Regions from separate parts of the Homo sapiens genome. Here all the other regions are linked to region 1. The links are contacts of gene promoters, found by promoter capture Hi-C in human tissues and cell types (Jung and others, 2019). All regions are on one chromosome and are shown on one strand. The core of a region is centred on a gene start or on the middle of the fragment in contact, and the rest is flanking DNA. Distances in the headings are between cores, read along the strand shown. Region 1 holds the start of COL6A1 (collagen type VI alpha 1 chain). Region 2 holds the start of C21orf58 (chromosome 21 open reading frame 58). Region 3 overlaps PCBP3 (poly(rC) binding protein 3). Region 4 overlaps MCM3AP (minichromosome maintenance complex component 3 associated protein). Region 5 overlaps MCM3AP (minichromosome maintenance complex component 3 associated protein).

What was found. The method cuts DNA at HindIII sites, captures the fragments that hold promoters and counts their contacts. A contact is called where the count stands out against the background at its distance.
Region 2: a contact is called between the fragment with the promoter of C21orf58 here and the fragment with the promoter of COL6A1 in region 1, in 6 of the 25 tissues and cell types used here (IMR-90 fibroblasts, liver, mesenchymal stem cells and 3 more).
Region 3: a fragment that was not itself captured here is called in contact with the fragment with the promoter of COL6A1 in region 1 in 1 of the 25 tissues and cell types used here (lymphoblastoid cells).
Region 4: a fragment that was not itself captured here is called in contact with the fragment with the promoter of COL6A1 in region 1 in 2 of the 25 tissues and cell types used here (hippocampus and mesenchymal stem cells).
Region 5: a contact is called between a fragment that was not itself captured here and the fragment with the promoter of COL6A1 in region 1, in 3 of the 25 tissues and cell types used here (IMR-90 fibroblasts, bladder and mesenchymal stem cells).

What each region holds. Positions count from the first base shown.
Region 1 is chr21:45,980,454-45,983,190 of GRCh38, reverse strand. COL6A1 (collagen type VI alpha 1 chain) reads right to left here and starts at 1,421. Exons shown (of 35, transcript NM_001848.3): 1 at 1,244-1,421; 2 at 428-557. The coding sequence starts at 1,340. LOC105372841 (a long non-coding RNA gene) reads right to left here. Exons shown (of 3, transcript XR_937803.3): 3 at 1,625-1,901. RefSeq lists enhancers at 1-800, 801-1,663. The HindIII fragment of the contact is 42,283 bases long and covers 1-2,737 here.
Region 2 is chr21:46,322,475-46,325,211 of GRCh38, reverse strand. It overlaps C21orf58 (chromosome 21 open reading frame 58), which reads left to right and starts at 1,342. Exons shown (of 8, transcript NM_058180.5): 1 at 1,342-2,573. The coding sequence starts at 2,474. PCNT (pericentrin) reads right to left here and starts at 1,056. Exons shown (of 47, transcript NM_006031.6): 1 at 930-1,056. The coding sequence starts at 983. RefSeq lists silencers at 264-723, 994-1,323 and an enhancer at 1,674-1,813. The HindIII fragment of the contact is 24,092 bases long and covers 1-2,737 here.
Region 3 is chr21:45,649,272-45,652,008 of GRCh38, reverse strand. All of the region lies in intron 1 of PCBP3 (poly(rC) binding protein 3), which reads right to left. Among named protein-coding and RNA genes, the nearest start is that of PCBP3, 6.9 kb to the right of the region's middle. The HindIII fragment of the contact is 3,792 bases long and covers 1-2,737 here.
Region 4 is chr21:46,264,865-46,267,601 of GRCh38, reverse strand. MCM3AP (minichromosome maintenance complex component 3 associated protein) reads left to right here. Exons shown (of 28, transcript NM_003906.5): 10 at 460-620; 11 at 1,436-1,677; 12 at 2,079-2,281. Among named protein-coding and RNA genes, the nearest start is that of MCM3AP, 19 kb to the left of the region's middle. The HindIII fragment of the contact is 5,088 bases long and covers 1-2,737 here.
Region 5 is chr21:46,241,890-46,244,626 of GRCh38, reverse strand. MCM3AP (minichromosome maintenance complex component 3 associated protein) reads left to right here. Exons shown (of 28, transcript NM_003906.5): 24 at 905-1,162; 25 at 1,696-1,825. All of the region lies in intron 3 of MCM3AP-AS1 (MCM3AP antisense RNA 1), which reads right to left. Among named protein-coding and RNA genes, the nearest start is that of MCM3AP-AS1, 14 kb to the right of the region's middle. The HindIII fragment of the contact is 7,439 bases long and covers 1-2,737 here.

The DNA.
Region 1 (2,737 bases), core at 172-2,671:
GGCTCTCACTGCCCACGGAACAAACCAGGGTCCAGGTGGTTAGTGAGGGGCTCCCGCGCACCAGGCAGGACTGCGTGTCTGGGCCAGTGCGCTGAGCCCTCTCGGTCAGCCTGCGGGAGCCTCTCTTCCCTACATCTCAGCCTCACTGTCACCTCGGCCCTGCTGAACAGGTGCCACCCCCGCGAGCAGGGTCTCAAACCAGCTCACTCTGGAAGGCGCTGGGAGAGGCTCAGACCAGCTCACTCTGGAGGGCGCCGGAAAGGGCCCCGGCCTCACTCTGGAGGGCGCCGGGAGGGGCCCCGGTCAGGGCAACGCTCGCCCAACCTTAGGAGGTTGAGGCCGTCGCACCCGTGTTCCCCTGGGCCCCCACCCCTCCCTCCAAGAGGCCCAGAAGCACAGGAGGAAGGTCACGGGGCGTCCCTCCTACCTGTCCCTCAGGTTGTCGATGAAGCGCTTGGTGAAGGACTTGACTTTGTCCACGAGGGCCCCGTAGGGCTTCAGCCTCAGGGCCACGCTCTCAGAGGTGTCCAGCACAAAGAACAGGTCCACGGGGCAGTCTGGCCGAAGATGGAGGAGAGGGGCCTTCAAGCTCTCGCCCCATTCCCCGAGTCTCTGCTGGGCCTGCCCTCCCGGCCAGCCCAGCGCCTGCAGCACAGAGCCCCGGGCCCGGAGAGGCTCTCCCGGGAAAAGGCAGCAGGACGTCCCTCGGTGGGGACGGTGGGGAGGGGGTGGAGTGAGAGACCCCAAACCGCTCCTGTGCCTCGAGGGGAGTCAGAAACCTTCACAACCTCCCCCGAAGGGCAGGGCGTCCCCGGCACGGGACCGGACAAGTGAGACCTCACGGGAAGGTTTCTCGCTGGATTCAGAACCAGCAGCGCACGACTTCTTCTAGAACGGGGGTCGGGGGGGCCGTGCGTCTGGACTCACTGCCAGGTGAGGGGTCAAACGGATTCACGGGGCGCCGAGACAGCCCCGCACCAGCTCCCCCTCGCCAGGGAGCCCCTCCCGAGCTGCCTGCGGTCCGGCCCCGCTGAGAATGCTGAATGCTGAGCCTCTAGGGGCCCCGGCCAAGGCCCGGTGGGGCAGAGCTGGGCGCTGCAGCCGCCCCGAGCGGGGAGTGGGGTTCAGGGGCTCCAGGCCCCCAGTCTGCAGTTCCACGCGTGGGAGGGGACCCCGCGCATCTGGCCCTGGCCGGCAGCAAAGAGCGGGGGGTCTGGAGCCTGCACCCCAAGCCACCACTCACCCTGGAAGGCCACGGCCCTCGGGGTCTCCGGCTCATCCTGCGCGGCTGTCCAGCAGGCCTGCAGCAGCAGGGGCAGCAGAGCACGGGCCGCCCTCATGTCTGGGGCCTGCGGTCACCACACAGCGCGGCCAGGGCAGAGTGGGCCGCCGCCGCCGCCCAGAGACCGAGGCTGCCTTCTGCTCCCAGCCAGAGTGAGAGCGGAGGGCAAGGAGGGGAGGGGCGGGGCGAGAGGGGCGGGAGGGGAGGGGAGGGGCGGGAGGGGAGGGGAGGGGCGGGGCGGGAGGAGAGGGGAGGGGAGGGGAGGGGCGGGAGGAGAGGGGAGGGGCGGGAGGGGAGGGGCGGGGCGGGAGGGGAGGGGCGGGGCGGGGCGGGGAGGAGCGGCCCATGAGTCACCACCTCCTTGCTGGGGTCTCTCCCTCCAGAACCGGCAGCAGCTCCGAGCCCAGGGAGAAGGCGGTTTCCCTGGCTGGCTCGCCGCGGCCTGCAGTTCAGTTCCCGTGTCAGGGAGGAGGAAACTGCAGCAGCTGAATCAAACGTCTGAAAACCAGCGTGTCACCCAGGGAGAGTTCCTTGAAACATCTTTCGGTAGTTTCCAATCCAGACGTCTCCATGCGGGACGCACGGGCAGGCTCACTCGCCTCTTCCCACCAACCGCCTCCTGCAGAGGACCTCGCCGTGAGCTGAATTGTTGCTTTATCAGATCTCCGCGTTCTTTTTTCACGTCAATATTTCTTCACAGTATAGTCGGATACGTATTTGCCAAAGATATTTCAGTTTGTACCGTGGGAAGACAAAGTTGCTCACAATATAGTTGTTATATATGCTGTGTGTGGAGACAGAGAGACAGAGACAGAGAGACAGAGAGAGACAGTGAGAGAGAGACAGAGAGACAGAGACAGAGAGACAGACAGAGACACAGACAGAGGAGAGACAGAGACAGAGAGAGAGACAGAGACAGAGAGAGACAGAGAGACAGAAAGACAGAGAGAGACACAGAGAGACAGAGGAGAGACAGAGACAGAGAGACAGAGACAGAGAGACACAGAGAGACAGAGAGACAGAGAGACAGAGACAGAGAGAGAGACAGTGAGAGACAGAGACAGAGAGACACAGAGACAGAGAGACAGAGAGAGACAGAGACAGTGAGAGAGAGACAGAAAGACAGAGACAGAGAGACAGACACAGAGAGACAGAGGAGAGACAGAGACAGACAGAGAGAGACAGAGACAGAGAGAGACAGAGAGACAGACAGAGAGAGACAGAGAGAGAGACAGAGACAGAGACACAGAGAGAGGAGAGACAGAGAGAGACAAAGACAGAGACAGAGAGACAGAGACAGAGAGAGACAGAGAGGAGAGACAGACAGAGACGGAGAGACAGAGACAGAGAGACAGAGACAGAGAGACAGAAAGAGAGACAGAGAGAGGAGAGAGGGGCTGTCCCTGATATCACCTGGGGGTGGGCTCCAGATGTGGCCAGATGCATCCCTGGCCC
Region 2 (2,737 bases), core at 93-2,592, 340 kb before region 1:
CCTCGCAGAGGCCGGCCTGCTCCCGCGGTTCCGCCTCGCGCTTTCGGGACTCCCTTTCTCCTGCCCCCGAGTCATGGGCTCTGCGCGCTTTATTCCCACGAAACCTAGGACAGTGGCCATCAAACCGAGCGCTTTTTCACGGAGAAACCCGGGGCGGGAGAAAGACGGGAGCGCGTCCCTTGAAGGCGCCCGGCGCCAGCGCCGCGTGGGTTCCCGGCAGCGTACGCCAGGCCCGGACGGGCAGGACGCGAGCCCAAGGGCGCGGGAAGAAGACGGCGGCCGGGAGCGCCGCGGGGGCCTTTCACACAGTAAGGACTGCAACGCCGCGAGAAACGCGCGGGGAAAGCATCTCCGACGGACGAGGCGAAGGCGCACCCTGGGGAGGCGCTGCAGGCCACCCGCGCCACGCCCCCGGCCCCGGCCGCGCAGGAAACTGGCCCTAGACCAAGCAGCCACCCGAATACCGGCCGCCCGCCCCAGGCCACCCGGTCCCGGAGGACGCGGGAGCCACTGGAAGATCCAGCCTGGGGTCCAGCGCCTGCCGCGCCCCACCCCCTCCGTGCAGCCACGCCACGCCCCTGTAGCCCCGCCCTGCAGCCACACCCCGCCCCGGCGTGCACCGCGCCCAGCCCGCGCCCCACCCCCCCCGACGCAGGCGCAGCCCCGCCCCGGCCCGCCCGAGAGGCGCCGCGCGTCCCGGCCGCTGATTGGCTGTGGCCGCGGCGGGGGCGGGACCTGGCGGAGAGCGGCGGATTCAAGATGGCGGCGGCCAGGAGGCGGCTTCCAGCGGAGCCGGCGGGAAAAAGCGAGACCTCCGCGGCGGCTTCCGCCGGACCGCGTCCTCTCCTGGCAGGGGGCGGTGGCGGGCACCGGAGCCGCCCTTAGGACTTCACGCCAGAGCAGCTAGAGAAGAAGCCCCTAATGTTTACCTTCGTCCTCCCGGCCTCCACCTTTCTGCGCCGCTGCTCTTGCTCAACTTCCATCTCCCTCAGACTCCGCGCGGGCCGCCCGGCGGTGACGGGGCTGACACAGAGCAGCCTTCGCTCTATTTACACTCCCTCCCCCGCGCTTGGGCTCGCCCTCCCCCCGCGACAACTGTCACGCAGCCGCGGCCCCGCCCCCGACACGCGCCGCCAATCAGGGGGCTGCGTTTCCGGTCTCGCGCACGCGCGCTCTGGGCGGTGCAGCCTGGGCGGAGCCCCGCCCTTTACGCTCGCCGGCCACAGATTGGTGCGCTCACGTACCCGCCTCCTACGGCAGGACCAGTAAGCGGAAAGCGGAGGCCTGGCGCCCGCTGTGATTGGCCGATTTTAAAATCCCCTGCCAGGCTGGCCGAGCGGCAAAAAGTTCGCGCTGCTGGTCCCGCGCGGGCGGCCCCTGGGCTTTGTGTCCACCAGGACAGCGGGCCGGGCTCCCTGCAGGCGCGGGCGGCGCCGAACGGTGCTCAGCAACCACCCGGACAGGGCCAGGCCGTTTTCTCCCGCTCAGGCATTAGTCGTTGGCTGTGGGCCGCCGCGGGAAGTTGAGGCCTACCACGGAGGAGGCTGCTGAGGTGGATCTCAGGGGATCCGCAAGGGCTCCCTCACCCTTGCCGGGACCCTGGGAACCCGAAACAAAATCCTACGCCACCAGCCCGCCGAATGCGCCCCCTCGGCCGGGGGTCCTGGGTCTTCAGAGAAGAACTCGGCCGAATGCGGTCAGAAAGCCCGCGAACCGCCTGGACCTGCAGGCCCCGCCGCTTGGAGCTCCCGCCTTTCCCGACCGAGCCCGTGTCTGCTCGTGTGTCTCACTGATGTCTTAGGTCTCAAAAAAAAAAGAAAAGAAAAGGTTTTTAGTAGACAGAAGAGAAATGGGGCCGTGGGTTCGTGGTCCCAGGGGGAAACTGACGTCGCATGAGGTCGTCGTCCCTCAGCTTGAGCTCAGCGGAACATAAGCTTGCAGAGGTGGAAACCACGGAAGGTTTGGGTGTCTTGGAGCTCTCTGGACACCGAAGCCCGGACACAGTCCCGGGGTCCGCACCGCCTGTGACCTGTGGCGGGACCGCCGGGGTGGGCGTTTTCTCAGCTGGCGCGCGCGTAGGTGGAACTTGGGAAACTAACTGGAGCGAAGTGGCAAAAAACCAAGACAGGGCCGGTGACCTCGCGCAGGCCGTCCTTAACTGTGGAGTATTCCTTCAGCTAACCCCTTTATTTCATGTGTCCAAGTCTGGTTTCTGGGTTTCTTTGTAGTCCTCCGGGCCTGTTCGTGCGCCTTCACTTGCAAAAGGTTCGTCGTGGAGGGCCGTGTGCTTGTTTGCAGCAGTAACGATGCCCTTCCCGAGCGTGCTGGAGTGGCTCCTCGCTGACGCAAGCTCACCTTGCAGCCTCCTCAGCAACTGCAACTTAAACGCGCCCTCAGGAAGCCCTGGAATCTCGCTCAGAATTTTTTTTCTTTTTTTGAGACAGTCTCGCTGCGACGCCCAGGCTATAGCGCAATGGCGCGATCTCGGCTCCCTGCAACCTCCCTCAGGAAGCCGTGGAAGCTCGACCGCCAGAAACTTCCTTCTCCTGACTCAGGCCACAGTCTTCTGTGTGGTGAGCGGGGTGTCCAGCGGTCTCCTGGTTCCCAGACTCGGAATTGGGTGGTTTGAGCAAACTCTGGGCAGTGGGCTCATTAGAGCAGGGGCCAGGCAGGCAACACAGCCAAGCGAGCAGGGGCTGCACCCACAGGATCACACTTTCCAGGAACAGAGACCCAG
Region 3 (2,737 bases), core at 177-2,676, 330 kb after region 1:
AGCGATCTCATACACAAATGCGTCTATAAATAGAATCCATATTGCACTTTAATGAATAATTTAAAACCACTCTGCAAACAGGGTTAAGAAAACAGGAACCTAGATGCTCAAAAATCAATAGTTCTGTCCTATCCCAACCTGGTGAGTTACAGAAACAGATGTCTAAGTCTTACATTATTTTTTAGAAATGTTGGAAAATAGATGGTTAGGTAGAAAAGGACTTAAAAACATTTACAACCTTTGAGCTAATAGTTCTACCTTTAGAAATTTAGAAGCAATCAGTGATACGCACAATGATTTTTGTATAGGATATTTTTCAAAGCATTATTTATCATGATGAGTATTTTAAAGCAACATAAATGTCTAGCTATAGGGAAATGGTTCAATAAACTGGGACACTCTTTGGAATAGTATGCAGCCATTTGAAATCATATTTTAGAAGAACACATTATGAGACAAGGAAATGCTCATGATCTAGTAAAAGGAAAAATATTGGTTCAAAAAACATACTTTGGAATGAATCCCAACTTTAGGATATGCATATCATACATAAATACAAGTAGGAAAAAACACTGAATATCCTTTTGTGCTAAGATTAAGGATAATGTTGATCTTCTACTTTATAATTTTCTGTTTCTTCCAATTTTTCTACACAAAACATTTGTATTACTTTTATAAATAGAAAAAACGTTGTATAAAAGAAAATAAATAATAAGCTGGTTACCTTAAATAGAGTCGAACACCCTTCATCAACCCAAATCCACTTCTAAGGGGAGGTCAGTAGAGATCAGTACATCAGTTTTCTATTGCCACATAACAAGCTATCACAAATTTAACACCTTAAACCAATATGTATTTAATATCTCACAGTTTCTGTGAGTCACGAATTTAAGCAGGCTTAACTGGGTCCTCTGCTTAGGGTCTCACAAAGCTGCATTCAAAGTGTTTGCCAGGCTGTGTTCTCACCTGAAGCCTTGACGGGAAGAATCTGTTCCCACGCTCACTCAAGATTATTGACAAAATTTGTTTCCTTGTGCTATTGGACTGAGTGCCCCCTGCTTCCAGGATGAGGAAGATTCTACCACCCCGCCCCATCTGAAATTAGGTATGGCCAGAATGACTCCTTCTGGCCAATGAAATGTGAGCAGAATGGACTAGCGACCCTTCCAAAGTGATTAATTGCTACTGCAAGTGTCTCCATATTTAAAAAGGTCCAGATCCAGACCATTTAAGAATCGATTTTGCCAAATTTCCAGGAAATAAAAATTCCTCCCTTTCCAAAACTATGACATTTGGGAGGCCAAGATGGGAGAATTTCTTGAGCCCAGGAGTTGAAGACCAGCCTGGGCAACATAGCAAGACCCTTATTCTACAAAAAGAAAATTTAAAAATTATCTGAGCATGGTGGTTTGCGCCTATAATCCCAGCTAATCAAGAAGTTAAGGCAAGAAGATCACTCGAGTCCAGGACTTCAAGGCTGCAGTAGGATATGATAGCACCACTACACTCTAGCCTGGGTGACAGAGAGAGTCCCTGTCTCTAAAAAAAAGAAAGAAATTATTACAAAGATGATGAAGTATCATGTTGATACCAAATCTGAATAAGGGTGATACAAGAAAAGATTATCACTGGTCAACACCTCTTATGAATATATATGCCAAAATCCCAAATATTTGCATATTGGGTCCAATAATTTAGGCTGGAGTGCAGAGGCATGATCACAGTTCATTGCAGCTTCAACCTCCCAGCCTTAAGTGATCCTTCAACCTCAGTCCCCCAAGTAGCTAGGACTACAGATGCATGCCACCATGCCCGGCTAATTTTTTTTCTTTGGTTTTTTTTTTTGTAAAAATGGGGTCTCACTATATTTCCCAGTCTGGTTTTGAACTCCTGCGCTCAAATGATCCTCCAGCCTCAGCCTCTCAGTGTTGGGATTACAAGTGTGAGCCACCACACCTGGCCTGGTAATATTTTTTAATGTAGTACATCACAGTTTCTCCCAGGAAATCAATGATGGCTTAAATTAAAAGAATAAAATATCTCATCTCAATCACGATTTTTAAAAAAAGCTTAAAATTATCTAAATAAGTACACTGTATAGAAAACCATTTGAGAAAATTCAAAATCTATTCATGATTTTTTTAAAAAGCTTTTATTAAACTACTAGTAAAGTGATCATCCTTAACCTAATAAAGGAATCTACCAAAAAAAAAATAACAAAGTTCATAATTCAGTCTTTCACAGCATTTCTTTTAAATGAAAAACAATATAAGGATAATCTTACCACAATCTCCATACAACTTTCTCTAGTGGTCCAAGCAAAGGAAAAAAGACAAAAAAAGATCAATAAAAGATTTAAGAACTAGGGAGAAAGAAATTAAATTATCATTAGGTACATGAAGCAACCAGAAACTGATCCATGCATTTGTGAAATCTGATGTGTTTCAGAGGTACCACTGCAGATCACTGGGGAAAGGACTGTATTCAATAAACAATACTGGTACAATTGGTTATGAATTTGGAAAAAATTTAAAATTGGATCTCTATCTCATACCCCACACAAAAATAAGTTCTAAGTAGACTATAAAAAGCAAATATTTAAATATTTTTTAAAGAGGAGGATATATTATGACTGATATGGTTTGGCTGTGTCCCCAACCAAATCTCATCTTGAATTCCCATGTGTTATGGGAGGGACCCAGTAAGCAGGTAATTGAATCATGGGGGCAGGTCTTTC
Region 4 (2,737 bases), core at 88-2,587, 280 kb before region 1:
TCTTTTTTTTTTTTTAAGGCTCTTGTTAGAATGCCGTGAACAGTTGTCTCCAACTATTATATGTCATTCCACGGGATTGGTTTCCTGCTGGCATTCCATGGTCTCCGGGGTCCTCTGCAGCACCTTCCTGGCCTTTTGTCATGTGGATGCTGCACAGCTGACTTCACCTGGTCTTGTTGATGGACAGTTTGTTTCATGATTTCTCTTATGAATAAAACCTTCACAAGCCATCCTTCTCTATGAGAGTGTTTGCTTGGCACGCATTCCTGAGCACTGCCCCTGAGCAGACCGCCTATGATCTCTAAGCTTGGGTTCCGTGTTGCCAAAGCGCCTTCTGGTGGACTCAGCCCAGGAGGAGCCCATGTGCCCCACGCTGGCCATGGCTGTGGTCATGGGCTGACTGCATGTGTCTGACTGGGCCTTCGTCTGAGACTGCAGTGATTTCGCTCCTCCTCTCAGATCCGCAAGGATGCTCTCCGGGCGCTCAACTTTGCGTACACGGTGAGCACACAGCGATCTACCATCTTTCCCCTGGATGGTGTGGTGCGCATGCTGCTGTTCAGAGACTGTGAAGAGGCCACCGACTTCCTCACCTGCCACGGCCTCACCGTTTCCGACGGGTAAGAGCTGAGAATGGAACTGTGGGGCCCCTGTCTCCTTTTTTCTTGTTAATTCTGATGAAGGGCTGTGAAGGGCTGGCTGCTTGCCTGACTTGAAGAAGGTGCATTCCCTCTGCCATGCAGGTGAACACACGAGACTCAGAATGGCTGGGGGTGTTCCCAAGGTCACATCCTGGCTGTCAGCACATTGAGGGCTCAGACCAAGTTCTTTGTGACTCCAAAATCAGTCCTTTTCATGACTTGCTGACAAACCTAAAGATAAAAGTTAGGGCCTTCTTTATTCTTTCCCTTGACTGCCTTTGCCAGCCAATGACGGACAACCTCTGACGGCTGGGATGGAGGCACCCGCAGGCCAGCCGGAGTCTTCTCCGGTACTTACCAGTCAGAGTGGTGAGACTCACAGACGCTCTCTCAGAAACTGGCAGCTTACACTCAACACCCGGTGCCTAGTTCCCCACCCTGTCTCCTCTAACTCCTCACCTGCCTCCTGCCTGTCTCCTCCTTCCAGTTCTGTCTCCTTCTAGTTCTGTCTCCTCCTTCCAGTTCTGTCCTCAGAAAATTAGACGGTTTTGGGTGAGCCAGCAAGGAGGCAGGAGTGAGTCAGCGTGCGTCTGTTAACACGCTGGGCTTAGTGGTTCTAGGGACCTACAGAGGCTCCAGGGTGGGCGGCAGTGGGACCTGGCGCCTGTGCTTTCTGTTATTTACACATGGCTGTGGTGACACCCAAGGGGCTTGCAGTACTCGGCAGGGCACTGAGGGCGAAGCTGTCTTCTCCCCTGGTGACACCCCTCGGGGGTCTTTTGTGGTCTGGGTAGCTGTGTGGAGCTGAACCGGTCTGCATTCCTGGAACCAGAGGGATTATCCAAGACCAGGAAGTCGGTGTTTATTACTAGGAAGCTGACGGTGTCAGTCGGGGAAATTGTGAACGGAGGGCCATTGCCCCCCGTCCCTCGTCATACCCCTGTGTGCAGCTTCAACTCCCAGAACAAGTACATCGGGGAGAGCCTGGCCGCGGAGCTGCCCGTCAGCACCCAGAGACCCGGCTCCGACACAGTGGGTGAGTGAAGCTGCAGTCGTAGTGAGGGGACTAGCTGCATTTTCCCACCAGAACGCCTCCCAGGAGCCTGGGCATCTGCATTTTCTCGCCAGGACGCCTCCCAGGAGCCTGAGCACCTGTCTTGTCTTGGGGCCCAGGGGTGTGGCTCTTCCTCATGCTCAGATGGTTCTCACTGGGAGTGGACTGAGGGCTTTGAAGCCCTCCTCCTGGCTCCCTGACATCCTGGGGCTTGTTTTTCATGCAAAGCGTATGTTGTCCCACGTAGCTGGTCTCCTGGAGGGCAGGCCAGTCCTCAGGGTCACTGTGGGTGGCCTGGGGCTGTCCCTGCACAGACCTCGGTCCCCGTGGTGCCAGGCACCCTGTGTCTGCAGCTATGTTTTGTCCTGTATGTTTCCTTCCAGGCGGAGGGAGAGGAGAGGAGTGTGGTGTAGAGCCGGATGCACCCCTGTCCAGTCTCCCACAGTCTCTACCAGCCCCTGCGCCCTCACCAGTGCCTCTGCCTCCTGTCCTGGCACTGACCCCGTCTGTGGCGCCCAGCCTCTTCCAGCTGTCTGTGCAGCCTGAACCACCGCCTCCAGAGCCCGTGCCCATGTACTCTGACGAGGTAGGGACTCTTTTTTTCTAGGTCTGGACTCTGGGAAGCCCATTGTGCGCAAACGTCCTTAGTCATCACCCCATGAGGTGGGGCTGTGGCGCCTGGTCTCTCAGGAGAGTCCAGAGAGGGGTCCTGCCTAGAGTCACTCAGCCTCAGGTAGGGCCCACCTATTCAGGCTCATTCTGGAGTCCGTCTTCATCTCAGGAGCTTCCTGTCACAGCACCGGCCTGAGCCCGTGTGTCTGAACTCAACACCCGTCTATTCCTGACGGGATCATTGGCAGCATTGTGCGCCCCCTGATGGGTGTGACCTGGGGTGGCGTGTCCGCCTGGTGGGTGTGGCCTGGGTGGGTGTGTCCCCTTGGGTGTGGCCTGGAGTGGGCATGTCCCCCTGATGGGACCCCAATATGCATGGACTGAGTGTGGGTGTGTCCCCTGAAGGGCATGTCCTGGGGTTGGGTGTCCC
Region 5 (2,737 bases), core at 168-2,667, 260 kb before region 1:
GAACAAGCTGGGTTTTGTGGAGTGGGGGCTGTTAGCCTTTCCTGACCAGCAAGGCAGTCCATGGGAGTTCACTCAGCTTCAGGAGAAAAGTGACAAGTGGTACTGGGAGGAACACCAACCCTGATCCTGTCCTGCCTGCCCACAGGGTCCCTGTTTTCAGAACAGACAAGGGGCAAAGAGCATGGGGACCATGTAGCCCTGTCCCCAAGCCGCAGCCATGGCACTCAGTGCTGATTTAACATTCTTTCTTTGTCAAAGAGGCCTTCTTCTATGGCTCTGGCTGTGCCCCTGTTCCTGGCTGAGGTCTTTGGGCTGTTTTGACACAGATCCGACAGGCCATCTGGCTGGCTCAAGCCCAGTATGGCATGGGGCTGCTCCTTCCTATGCACTCAGAAGGGAATGAGCTGCTTATCTGGCAGAAGTTGTGGCATTAGCACAGACACTCCCCTTTGGGCCTCAGGCGCCCTTCTAAATTGTGGTGTGTGGTCTGTAGTAGGTCTAACTCATGCTCATTATTGAAGGAACCCAAAGGGAAGCAAACCACTCAGCACAAGCCCTCGGTGCTCTGGTTAGGTTGGGGTTCCCCAAAATAAGCTAAGACTGCTTATACCAGACTCATCTGGGTGCTTGTTAAAATACAGATTTCCTAGGCACAACCACAGGCCTGTACAGTCAGAACTTCTGGGTAGAACTTGGCTAGCAACACTGTTAAGGGGGACTGTCTGCATCCCTCACCTAGACCCTGGGAGCAAGCTGCTCTTCCCCCTCAACAACTGTGGTTCTGCTGTGTTTAGAAAGCAGACTTCTCAACTTCACAGTTGCCTTCTCCTGAGAAAATGTTTTCATGTACATTTTCACCTGTATTTTGGCCAAACCTGTAACTAATGAGGCACTTTCTCCCCAGCCCCCTGGCTCCCCGTGTGCTCCATGGTTGTCCAGTACGCCTCCCAGATCCCCAGCTCACGCCAGACACAGCCTGTCCTCCAGTCCCAGGTGGAGAACCTGCTCCACAGAACCTACTGTAGGTGGAAGAGCAAGAGTCCCTCCCCAGTCCATGGGGCAGGCCCCTCGGTCATGGAGATCCCATGGGATGATCTTATCGCCTTGTGTATCAACCACAAGCTGAGAGACTGGACGCCCCCCCGGCTTCCTGTTACATCAGGTAATTAGAGCTTGATGCAATGGGATCAGCTCCTCACGAGACTTTCCTGGTCCAGTTTCTGCAAAGGAAGATGTTTAGTTGATGTTGCTGCTTTTCTTTTGGGTCTCTATCCTTCCTTTCCTTAGGACTTCCCTCTTCAAGTGAGTGACTTAAAAACATTGAGACAGGCTAGGAAGTTTCTGGTAGAGCCTGAACTCACCTCCCTGAAACAGGCCCCCTAGGATGGCTCTTAGAGAGGATTTTGTGGCTTTTGAGTAGTCATTACTGGCCCTGCCAGTCTCGATGTAAGCTTGTCTGGACTTTGAGTGATGCATGGACCCTGGGAGCCTATTTAACCCAAGTGTGGAAGTCACATAATTGTGTGACTTTAATCAAAGGTCTTGCACTTAAATCAGTGAATTTAAGCACATGCCACCTGTCGCTGTTTAAATATTATTTGTACCTGTTTTTGTTTTTTTGTGTGTGTTTTTTTTTTTTTTGAGACAGGGTTGGCCAGGCTGGCCTCTTTATCTGTTTTTGTATTGTTTTCTCAGAGGCGCTGAGTGAAGATGGTCAGATATGTGTGTATTTTTTTAAAAACGATTTGAAAAAATATGATGTTCCTTTGTCGTGGGAACAAGCCAGGTTGCAGACGCAGAAGGAGCTACAGCTGAGAGAGGGACGGTGAGGTTCATGTTCAGTATGTTTCTGTTGCTTGCTAAACTGTATTTTTCTTGCAAAGTAAATAGAAATTAACATCCTACATGCCAAATCCAGTCCACTGTGGGCAGACTGTGACAAATCCTCAAGGAACAGATCATTCCCATGCAGTAGAAACTATTCTAGAACAAAGTTAAAGCATCTCACTTCATTTATCAGGCATACCTGACCCTGAAATCATACCTAACCAGGAGAGTACAGCTGACATTTCATCTCACTTCCAAATTTGGTTCCAAAGCACAGTACCTAAAAAAGTTCACAAGTATGCTTTCTCCCAGGATAAACAATAACAGTGAAAATCTATTAATGTAATTTGTTGCCATAATAGAAAAATAAGTGGTAATTTTAGCAGGCGTTGAAATACGTTTCTTAAAATTTATACCTGTTCCTGATAAAATTTCTTTATTTTGGGTACTTTCTTTAGCTTGGGTTAAAAAAAAAAAAAGTCCTAACTTGATAAGGCTACCTAACATAAAACTACCAAAATAGAAAAAAAACATGCTTCTTGGTAGAATGTTAGGAACAGTGGAATCAGAACCAGCCTGTTGTCCCGACTATTATTCACTATTGTCCTGGAAATCCTGACCAGTACAGGGATGTGGGATAGACAGGCACAAATACTGAAAGGAAGGAGAAACTGTCATTTCCAGACAGTACAGTTGTCAGTCCAAGAAAAGTCAAGTCCATAGAACCATTCTCAGTTCAATAAGGTGATCAGATAGATAGATCCACAACATGTTAAAAAAAAAAAAATTCTCATTCACAACAATAAACCTGAACAGAAAGGGCACAGGATGGTGGAACTTTGCTGTTCCTTCTTGTTCCCCATAGAGATCCTTGAAGTACCTTCTCCAACTCCATGATACTCTAAAAACT